Linked DNA regions of Homo sapiens: region 2 is linked to region 1. Evidence: promoter capture Hi-C in 16 types of primary human blood cells and fetal thymus (Javierre and others, 2016). All regions are on one chromosome and are shown on one strand. The core of a region is centred on a gene start or on the middle of the fragment in contact, and the rest is flanking DNA. Distances in the headings are between cores, read along the strand shown. Region 1 holds the start of IGSF9B (immunoglobulin superfamily member 9B). Region 2 overlaps GLB1L3 (galactosidase beta 1 like 3).

Region 1 (5,108 bases), core at 875-3,374:
CCTCCATGCCCGCCATCCATTCTGACAGACAGTTCTACTTTCCTAGCAGGAGGCAGAACCCTGAGTAGGACAAATGGATGGCCAGACAAAGCAATCAAGATGGGTGGTGAGAGTGGCTCCATCTTTTTCCTTGCCCTGCAGGCCCCTAGGAGAGGGTTTCTCTGAGACCTGATGTTTCCCACTCCATACCTAACAATGGTGAGGAACTAGGGCCAGGCTTTGTGGATCCGGCACTTTTCTCTAGGCCACAGTTAGCTGCTTAGAGGTTGTGGGAGGAGAAGGATCCTGTTATGACCAATTCTGCAAATGGATTCCAATATGTCTTTACAGTCCCGGGGCCCTGGGAAAGTGTGTAAGTGTGTGTGTATGTATATGTGTGTGTGTGTGTTGGGGGTGGAGTTATTCTGGGTCATGCCACCTGGAAATCACTGCATCAATGAGACCTGGAGATCACTGCATCAATGAGACCTGGAGCAGCTCACTTCATTGTCCCCAGAAAGGCATCTTTGCCCAAGAAGAGAACCAAAATCATGGCTCAGGGAGAGATGGCCCCAAGTTATGCATCTTGAGTGTGTTTGCACAGGTGGAGGGGTGGGTAGGGTAGAAGGTTATTCAACAGTCCTGGTTCTCTGGATCTATCCAGGCCCTCGACCTTTATCCATGTGCTCACTGACTGCTCTGTTGGGGGCCTCTTTCTGCCTCCCAGCTGGCGGTGAGCTAAGAGGCTTCCGGTGTCAGGGAATGCTCCACCTCCGGTGTTCAAGGCCACTTTTTGTGCATGTGTGTGTACCTGTGTGCACGCTTTCCCAGAAGCAAGTCTCCTTCTTGTTGTTTTGGGAGCTTCATGTCCTGGAGCCAGGGCTTTGTGGCTAACGAGTGCTTTGAGAGGATGAAATTCCTGAGCTCTCGCTCGCTGACCCTCTGCCTTCCTTCCTTGGCCAACAGCCCATCCCAGGGAGCGGTGTGATTCTTACCACTGCCTTCACTCCTTGAAAGAACAAACATCTTCACTGCAGCCTCTGAGCGCTGGTGTGAGGTGATTGTTTGTAGTAGATGTTTCCATGACACTCATTTATTTCTTCTGCAAATACAACTGTATTGGGGGAGGGGAAGCAGACAGGCTAGGGTAGGGAGACTGGAACATACGAAGACCTTCCAGTTTCCTATTTACATTCCTCTGTAGGATGAGAAGCTCCTTCCCTTTCCCTGGGTCTCCTCCATCCCAGACTCCTAAAGCTTCCCCCAAACCCATCTTGGTTTCATGCGGCCGAGTCGGGGCTGGGCTCCGAGTAAGGTGGAGAGGGGAGGAACCATGTGCGTGAGGAAGCAGCCTTTATCAGGAGAAGTGGGAAAAAGACCCAACTTTGACTGCTTGGAGTCGGGATTCAGTAATGATGAGCAGCAGTGACCAGCACTGGGGGTGGAGTGTGTGTGCACGAGTGTTCCTGAGGGGTCTGTGGCACTTCGCAGCTGAGCCAATGACTCACTCTAAATCTTAGCGACTTTGAGAGGTCATTTTAGTCATCCCCCGGTCTGCATCACGTTTGGAGGGGGTGGTGCGCTGCTCTGGGGACGTGTCTGGGTGCGGAGGGAGACGGGGTGGGGAGGCGGCGCGTGACCTCTTTGAAAAGATCTCCGGCGAAGGACGTTCCCCGGCTCTCCCGGGCCGCCGGCTCCTGGGTTTCCCCATCATAGAATCAGCATGGTCCTCTCGGGAACTGCTTTTTGCCGGATGGAAACCGGATGTTGGGTTCCATGAGTGGGCGGGGGCTCCACTTCCCTCAGACCTGTCCGGGGTAATTGAGACCCGCCAGGGTCCCGTTAGAAGCTACCATTTCCCTCACCAGAAACTTGCCACGCAGTGTGAGCCGAGAGAGAAGCGGGCAGAGACGCTATACCACCTTCTCCCCGGCAATGCGCATGATTCTGCGGCTCTGTGCTCGCCACACTTCAACGCACCTTGAAATGGGCTCGCCTCCTTCGCGCCGCGACGGGCGGAAGGCTGAGCCAATCGGACCCCCGGCTTGCGGGCGGCGCCCAATAGGCGGGCGGCGGGGGCGGTTCCGGAGGCCCGGCCCGGCTAGGCTTCACCGTGGACCTGGCTGCGCTCCGCCCGGGCGAGTAGTGCAGGTGCCGCTGCGCCGGGGCCGGGGAGGCGCGCGCCGAGCCGAGCGGAGCCTAGGAGGGATGGAGAGCTGGCCACCCGGGCTGCAGGAGCACCGGCGCGGGGCGTAGGCGGCGCGAGGCGGGCGCGAGGCGGGCGCTCGGGCGCGAGGCGCGTGCGGGCGCGGGAGCACTTTGCGATAGGATGAGGCTCCGGGCTGGCGCGGTAGTACTATGATTTGGTATGTGGCCACTTTCATAGCAAGTGTGATCGGCACCCGAGGGCTTGCGGCTGAAGGTGAGTTGAAGTGCGGCGTCCCTCCCCTGCCCCTCCCGGCGCCCTCGGCCCCTCGCGCCCGGCCCCTCGGTTTCCCGGCTCCTTGGCCCCCCGGTTCCCCAGCTCCCCGGCGCGCCTTCCCGCGGGTGAGGCTTGGGCTCCGACGCGGGCCAGGCGGCCCGGGAGCATTGCCGGGGAGGGCCTGGGGGCCGTGGGCTGGAGGGGCGGGCGGGAAGGGGCCAGAGCCCACGGGCTGCCGGGCACTCGGGGAAAGGACGCAGTGGAACCTGGGTCGACTTCGCCCACCACGGGCCCCACGGTGCACACCGGCGCGCCTAGCCCGTCGCCTCCTGCCCGGCGGCCGCCTCCCAGAGCTGCGGGAAACTCTGGCTGCGGGAGTTTGCGGTCTCCGGGCAGGCTGCAGCACGCTAGAGCCCCGCGCCGCGAGGAGCGCCTGCAGGGAGGCGCGACCCGGAGGATCCCTGGGACTGGCGGCACCCGCGTCTAAGGCCCCGGGTTCGCGCGGCCCTGCGGGCGTCCATCGCTCCGCTCGCGCCCCTCCTGCCCACACATCTTGGCAGCTGGAGGTCGGATCCCCCTAGCAGGGGCGCCCGGTGAGAGGAGGATTGATGAGGCCAGCTTCGAGGTGTGTCCGCTTTTGGCTGGACCCCGCCGGCCCCCGCGCCTCTCAGCCGCACCTGGGCCCCGGCCAGGCAAAAGTTCCCCGGGAGCGCGCCGCAGCCGCGCGGGCCCCACGCCGCCCTCCCCAGGCTGCGAGGCAGAGCTGGCTGGGGGCGGCGGCGGGGGAGGGGAGGGGCGGGGAAGGGGGGGTCCCCACGCTGTGAATCCGAGCGGAGGGGGGATTTTCTCTTTCCGCTTTCCTGGGTCTGAGCTGGGGGAGACGCAAGGGGGGAGCCACCGAGTTGGGTGATGCGTGCGTGAGCGCGCGGGCTTTTGCTTTGGAGATGGGCAGAGCGACCTACAAGCCTCTGGGTGGCACCCCCGGCTCTCGGCCCTTGTATGGAAGTGGGAGCGGAGCCTGGAGGGTGCCAGGACTGTGAGCTCAGGGCTGTCAGCGCGCAGACACGACCCGGCTGCGGGCAAGTTCACCAAGCCGGAGGAGATGGCGGCGGGAGAGAACCCGCTGTGGGTGGGAGTCAGCAGGCAGGACTCGCCGACAGAGAACCCTCTCCCAGCGGCATGGGGCGCCGGGTGGGCTGGAGGCGCCTCTCACGGGGTCCCCTCGTCACTCGTCTGTGCAGGGGGGCGTGCTTCAGGAAACTTTCCGGAATGGAATGAATATGTCGCCTCTGCTTCTGAGGGGGGTGGTGGTGTCTGAAAACAGAACGAGCAGAGGGCGAAGCGAAGGGTGATTTTGTTAACTGACATGTTGGTCCGGACGGTTTTAAAACTCTTCATTTGTCAGGTGGGAACACTGAGGCAAGGGTGATGGCGGAAGCTTACGGAACGGGGGGTGGATGTGAGGTGCATCGGGCTGCGCTTGACAGTCTGCCTGTAGCCTCATCCTCTCCCCCATTTCCTTGCCGTCTTCCAATGCCCGCATCCTCCTCCCCTCCCGTTTTTGGTATGTTCCTGCTATGGGACTGTCCCTGAAAGCACAAAAGGATGAGCTGGGATCTTTGAATAGAAAAGAGACGCTGAAGGAAGGCTCTGAAATAGCCTCCGAACCTAAGTCAGGGTGGGCAATGGACTTCTTTGCAAGTTTCAGCCCAGAATAAAGGAATGTGAGTTTATACTGCAGCAACACGCAGAATCGCAAGATAGAAGGAAGGGCTTCCCAAAATTGAAGGCTGCCTGGCATGAAGGTTATGCCCTCTTTCAGGGTGCAGAGGGGTCCTTCTGTCTGGAATGGCTGGACATGTACCCCTGTCTGGAAGCAGAGGGTGACCTTGCTGGTCTTGGGGTCTTTCTTAGCCTCAATTGCTCTGTGTGTGGTAGTTAAGGACCTAGGTCTAGAGCCATATGACTGGGATTCAGATTCTGGCTGTGTCACCTGCCGACCCTGTGACCTTGGACAAATTCTCAACCTCTCTAAATGTCACTTGCTTCAATAGAAAATGTGCCAATAGCATGTACTTTTAGGGTTTTTAGGTGGACATGAGTGTTATAAGGAAACAAAACAACTACCTGTTATATAGTACGTGCTCAGTAAACATTAACATTATTTTCTCAGTGTCCCTGGGATTCCAAGATCCTCCTCAATTTCTTTCCCTTGGGCCATTCAGGGCACTAGGAGCTGAGAATGTGTTGCGGGGAAGTTCAGAAGGCTGCCTGTGTCAGGAAGTAAGACCCCTTTCTGGGCTGACCTTGTCTGGGCAGAACCTCTTGTCCCTGGCATCCCAGGGACACGTGTGCAGGATGTGCGGGCCTCAAAGCTGCTCGGAAGTCCTTTGCAAGGTCTCCAAAGCTGGAGTGTTGTTGGTGGCCAGAGGTTTATGGAAGGACACAGCCCGGGAAGTGAGGGCTTGCAACACACAGCCTCTGGAGAGAGCGGGTGGGCGCCCGCTCGTGTGAGCAGCACCAGCCAGTGTCCACATGCTGCTGAGTCTCCCTGTGAGAGCTCAGCTGTTCCCTGACTGGCAGAGGTGACTTCTGGGGCAGTCCCTCAGCAGGAGGGACTTTGAGATGCCACCCTTAGGATTTGGCCATAGCAGGGGCTGCTCTGGCAGAGGGGGAAAGGGATGATGTTGTGTTGGGACCCGACTCC
Region 2 (4,672 bases), core at 1,038-3,537, 360 kb before region 1:
GGCACGTTTAATTAAAGAATAAGAGCCTGCTAAGGATTAAGCATTTAACTAGATAAATCAGTCATTAAAGATTTTGAAGACTTTTTAAAGCCTAAAAATAGGCATCATATAGATAGACTACAAAATACATAACAATTCCTCTGCTGTTTTGTTGTTGTTGTTATTTTCACATTTTTGCTATTGTAGGCAACACTGTGTTTGATAGTCTTAACATAAATCTTATTCCTCAAAAATGACTTATAGATGAACTCCAGCAACCCAAAAAATATGTTCACGGCCGGGAGTGGTGGCTCACGCCTGTAATCCCAGTACTTTGGGAGGCTGAGGAGAGCAGATCACAAGGTCAGGAGATTGGGACCATCCTGGCTAACTTGGTGAAACCCCATCTCTACTAAAAATACAAAAAATTAGCCAGGCGTGGTGGCGTGCACCTGTAGTCCCAGCTGCTGGGGAGGCTGAGGCAGGAGAATGGCGTGAACCCGAGAGGCTGAGCTTGCAGTGAGCAGAGATTGTGCCACTGCACTCCAGCCTGGGCGACAAAGTGAGACTCCATCTCAAAAAAAAAAAAAAATGTTCAGACACAGTTTTACAGCGTGGGCTTGTCTGTAGATTTGATATCTGAGCCACTCATCATCTTCTCAAACAAGATGACCTGAGAAGAAAAGAAAGGTTGACAGTGGGAAAGGTGAAGCCTATTTAGTACAGGTTGAAAAAGACACTGCAACTCACATTTTGATCTGAAAGTTTATGAGATCTCAAGGCAGAGACTGGAGTGACATACCTCATTGTCTTCTGGATGAAGCCAAACTCCAGGAAGGTACAGTGTTTTCTGAGGCCCAATATTCCAATATCGCCCAAGGTTACGTCCATTGATGAACACAAATCCATAATTCCAGTTCTGAAAGGAATGGTGGCTTGAGATTTGGAAATTGGTTCACATTAGCAAGGTAAAACCTAAGGCACTTGGAGAGTGAGAGCAAGATTGAGATACTTTATGGCACTCAAATGAAGGTGAGTTTAGAGTGGGATATGTTATAGAACTTCTACCTTGCTGTCTAGGAATGAAAGAGAAAAGCATAAATAGAACCAACCCTTTAATGGTAAGGCTGCTATTGTTCCTGTTATGTGATATATAATGTTATATATTTTAAAAAGCAGATCTTCTACTTCCAGAAATAAATATCAGGTAATAGTGATGAACACCACTGCTGACAGTGGCTATTAATATAAAAGCTGCACATTTTTAAAAATCTGCTTGCAATATAATGAAGAATTACAGGATCAAGATCTAGAAGAAGAAAATGGAGAGACAAGGAGACATCTAGGCAGTTTTTCCACTAGAGGCACCTGCTTATTCTGGGATATAACAAAACAGTCTAGCACATAAAATTGGAGTCTCTGAAATGCTTCAAATTAAAGGGCAAAGGTTGCTGGTCTTGATTTCAAATAAAGTAGTTATATGCTACATATAAGAGAAGCATCAAAAACATAAGGCATTGGAAAAATAAAAGAAAAACAATGGATAATGATATGTAAACCCTAACCAAAAGGAAGTTGCTATAGCTCTGTTAATATTCAGAAAAATAATACTTTAAGGCAAGAAGCATTATTAGAGATAAAGAGGGACATTTCATGATGGTAAAATTCTTAATTTACCAAAAATGTATATACAACATACATAAGAAAGATAAAAGCAGAGATTCAAAACATATCAGCGAAATTGACAGAAGAGAAATAAATAAATTTACAACCATAGCGGGAAATTTTTATACAACCTTTCAATAGTCAATAGGCAAAGCAAATAACAATCAATAAAGACATAAAACATTTAAAAGAAGATGATTAACAAAATTGAACTAATTGACATAATAGAACATTGATCTAACATCTACAGTATACACATATTCTTTCAAGTATACCTCAGAATATTTACAAGCTTGATCCTGTATTAAACTAGTCTTCACATAAACTTCTCAGACTATAATGCATTTAAGAAAGAAACTGATAAAAAAGATAACCCTAAAATATCCAAATTCTTGGAAATTAAGAAAAGCACTTCTAAATAAACCATAAATCTAACAAGTAATGACAAAGGAAGTTGGAAAATATTTGAATTCTTTGATGATGATGATAAAATTGATAGAAACTTGTAGGGTATAAGACTATCAGCAGATTTTTCAGCAGAAACCTTGCAGGCTAGCGTGGAATGGACCGATATATTTAAAATGCTAAAAGAAAAATCAACTGGCAACCAAGAATACTACATCCAGCAAAACTGTCTTTCAAAAATGAATAAGAGATAAAGACTTCCAGACAAAAACTGAGGGAGTTCATCGCCACTAGACCTGCTTTACAAGAAGTGCTAAAGGAAGTCCTTCAACTTGAAAAGAAAGGAACTTAAACAGTACCAAGAATCCACAAAAAGTATAAACTGATTGGTAAAGATCATCAAGTTTCCCCCCGGCAACAACATGGCCCCCAGAGTGGCCTGCAGCTTTCTGGACACTGCCTCCAGGACATCCAGTGCCTCAGGTTGAATACTACCTGCCAAATGGCGCCTTCGGTCTACACTATTTGCCTTAATATGAGAAGAAAGCACAGCCCTACTATAGCAAAGTTCTGGACCCAGGGAAGCTTCTCAATGTCCCCCAAAACATGGAAGTTGTCATTATGGGCAAGTGCTTGTGAAGCATGTGACCTTCAACAATCCACACAGCCGTATGAAGGAAAAGTAAAATTCCAACTTAAAACTTAGAGGTGAAAGAGCAAGAGTAGGTATTTTATAATTCCTAGCAGACTCAAGAAGATTGGCCCTAACCTGCAGGATAATTTGCAGACCTTCTCTTTTGTTGGGCTTAATTTGCCTGCCAGCTCCTTACAAAATCATCTTTAAGACATTCTAAAATGCACATACCGAAGTCTACTTGACACCTTCAGAGAAGCACCTACAGGTGAAGTGCTCACCTTTAGTATCAGCTGTTTGTTATGAAACCTTTATTATTTTTTAGATAGAATTTATAGTTATGATTAAACTGTTAGGCTAACATGGCAACCTTAAAGCAGCAATTATCCAACTAATAAGACACTAAAATGATTCATCTCTTCCTATATAGACATCGCTTGTCTTACAACTTATTTTTTCTGTATTTCAATATGAACCATTACCCATATAATAGAAAGTATAATATAAAAATAATGCACTGATATGAAATATGGCTTATAATTATGTACATTCTGAATTCTTGCTTTGAAGAATGTAATTCTTCAGTCATGAAAATAAATACAATAAATTTATTCTTATTCTACGTGTAAAAAAAAAAAAGGTATGGGAGTCATTTCCAATATAGGCAAATCCATAAAGATAATAAAAAGATTGCTGTTGCCAGGCGGTGGGAGAAGGGGAAAATGGAGAAGTAATTGCCCAATGTTTATAGGATAATGAAAATGTGCTGGAACTGGAGATAGAGGCTGCATAGCATTGTGAAGGCATGAAAGACTACTTAATCGTTCACTTTAACAGAACTAATTTTATGTTATGTAATTTTACCTCAAAAAATCTTTTTAAAACTTAGAGGATGCAACCAAATCCACGCGTAAATGATGATTAATAACCTAAATTCATATAATTAAAAAGAACAAAGACTGAAAGTCCATTATCTAAGTATCTATGTCAAGACATTATAAAAATAAAGCAAATTAATCCTAAACTAAGAAATTGAATAAACAAAATAATAAAGATAATGACAGAATCAGAAAATAAATACTTAACACAGTAAGAGTCATAGCCAAACACTGTACTTTGAACAATTAATAAAATTGATAGTGTTCTGGTGAGAATTATCAAGAAAAAAGAGTGCATCGATATCCTGTAACAAATGACAAGGGGAACGTTACTACCAATGATCTAGACATCAAAAACGAATATTTTAAAGGCAATATATTTGAAAATTTAGATGAAATGGGAAAATTTCCAGAAAAATATATTTTCTCAAAGCTAACTTTAAAAGAAACAAAATCTGAATAGTACTTTAATCTTTCAATAATTGAATCCACACTCACACACTTTTTCAAAAAGAAAATGCCAGCTCTAGAAGGCTTCACTAATGAACTCCATTAAATGTTTAAGAAGTGATACTTGTCTTACACAAATTCGCCTTCCTAAATCCTTTATGAGATCCCTAAACATTGGCACCAAAACCTGACAAAGAGATCTCAGTTATGAACATAAACACAAACGAAGTCTTAATTATTTACCATAGACAAGCCCTAGATATAATCCAAATGTTCAGAAAAAGTAAAATGGTTAAATAAATTATTATAATGTATTTACTAAATGAACCCAATACAACAGTGAAAATGAACAAATCACTGCAACATCGATAAATGGCTGAACCTCACAATGTTGAACAAAAGAAAACATATTTAAAAAAGATGCCCTGTATGATTCCATTTACATAAAGTCAAAATAGGAGACACTGGCCTAGGGTGTTAGAAGTCAAGGCAGCAGTTGGGAGGGGTGCCAACAATATTTTTAACTTTCAGTGATAATTATATGGTGTTCACTTTGTGATCATTTGTTGATCTGTACATTCACATTTTGTACATTTATGTTATCTATGTGTATTTATACAGAAAAAGATATTCTAAGTAAAAACTAACTTACCAACTCACC

Evidence for each region. Contacts are between HindIII fragments. The CHiCAGO score rates a contact against its expected background, and 5 or more counts as called.
Region 2: a contact is called between a fragment that was not itself captured here and the fragment with the promoter of IGSF9B in region 1, in 4 of 17 cell types (activated CD4 T cells, total CD8 T cells, naive CD4 T cells and 1 more). The highest score is 9.9, in activated CD4 T cells.

The regions. Positions count from the first base shown.
Region 1 is chr11:133,953,984-133,959,091 of GRCh38, reverse strand. IGSF9B (immunoglobulin superfamily member 9B) reads left to right here and starts at 2,124. Exons shown (of 20, transcript NM_001277285.4): 1 at 2,124-2,401. The coding sequence starts at 2,338. RefSeq lists a silencer at 1,946-2,295. The HindIII fragment of the contact is 2,603 bases long and covers 1,239-3,841 here.
Region 2 is chr11:134,314,857-134,319,528 of GRCh38, reverse strand. It overlaps GLB1L3 (galactosidase beta 1 like 3), which reads right to left. Exons shown (of 20, transcript NM_001080407.3): 19 at 782-898; 20 at 1-652. The coding sequence ends at 587. It also overlaps the pseudogene LOC100421417. Among named protein-coding and RNA genes, the nearest start is that of GLB1L2, 15 kb to the left of the region's middle. The HindIII fragment of the contact is 698 bases long and covers 1,939-2,636 here.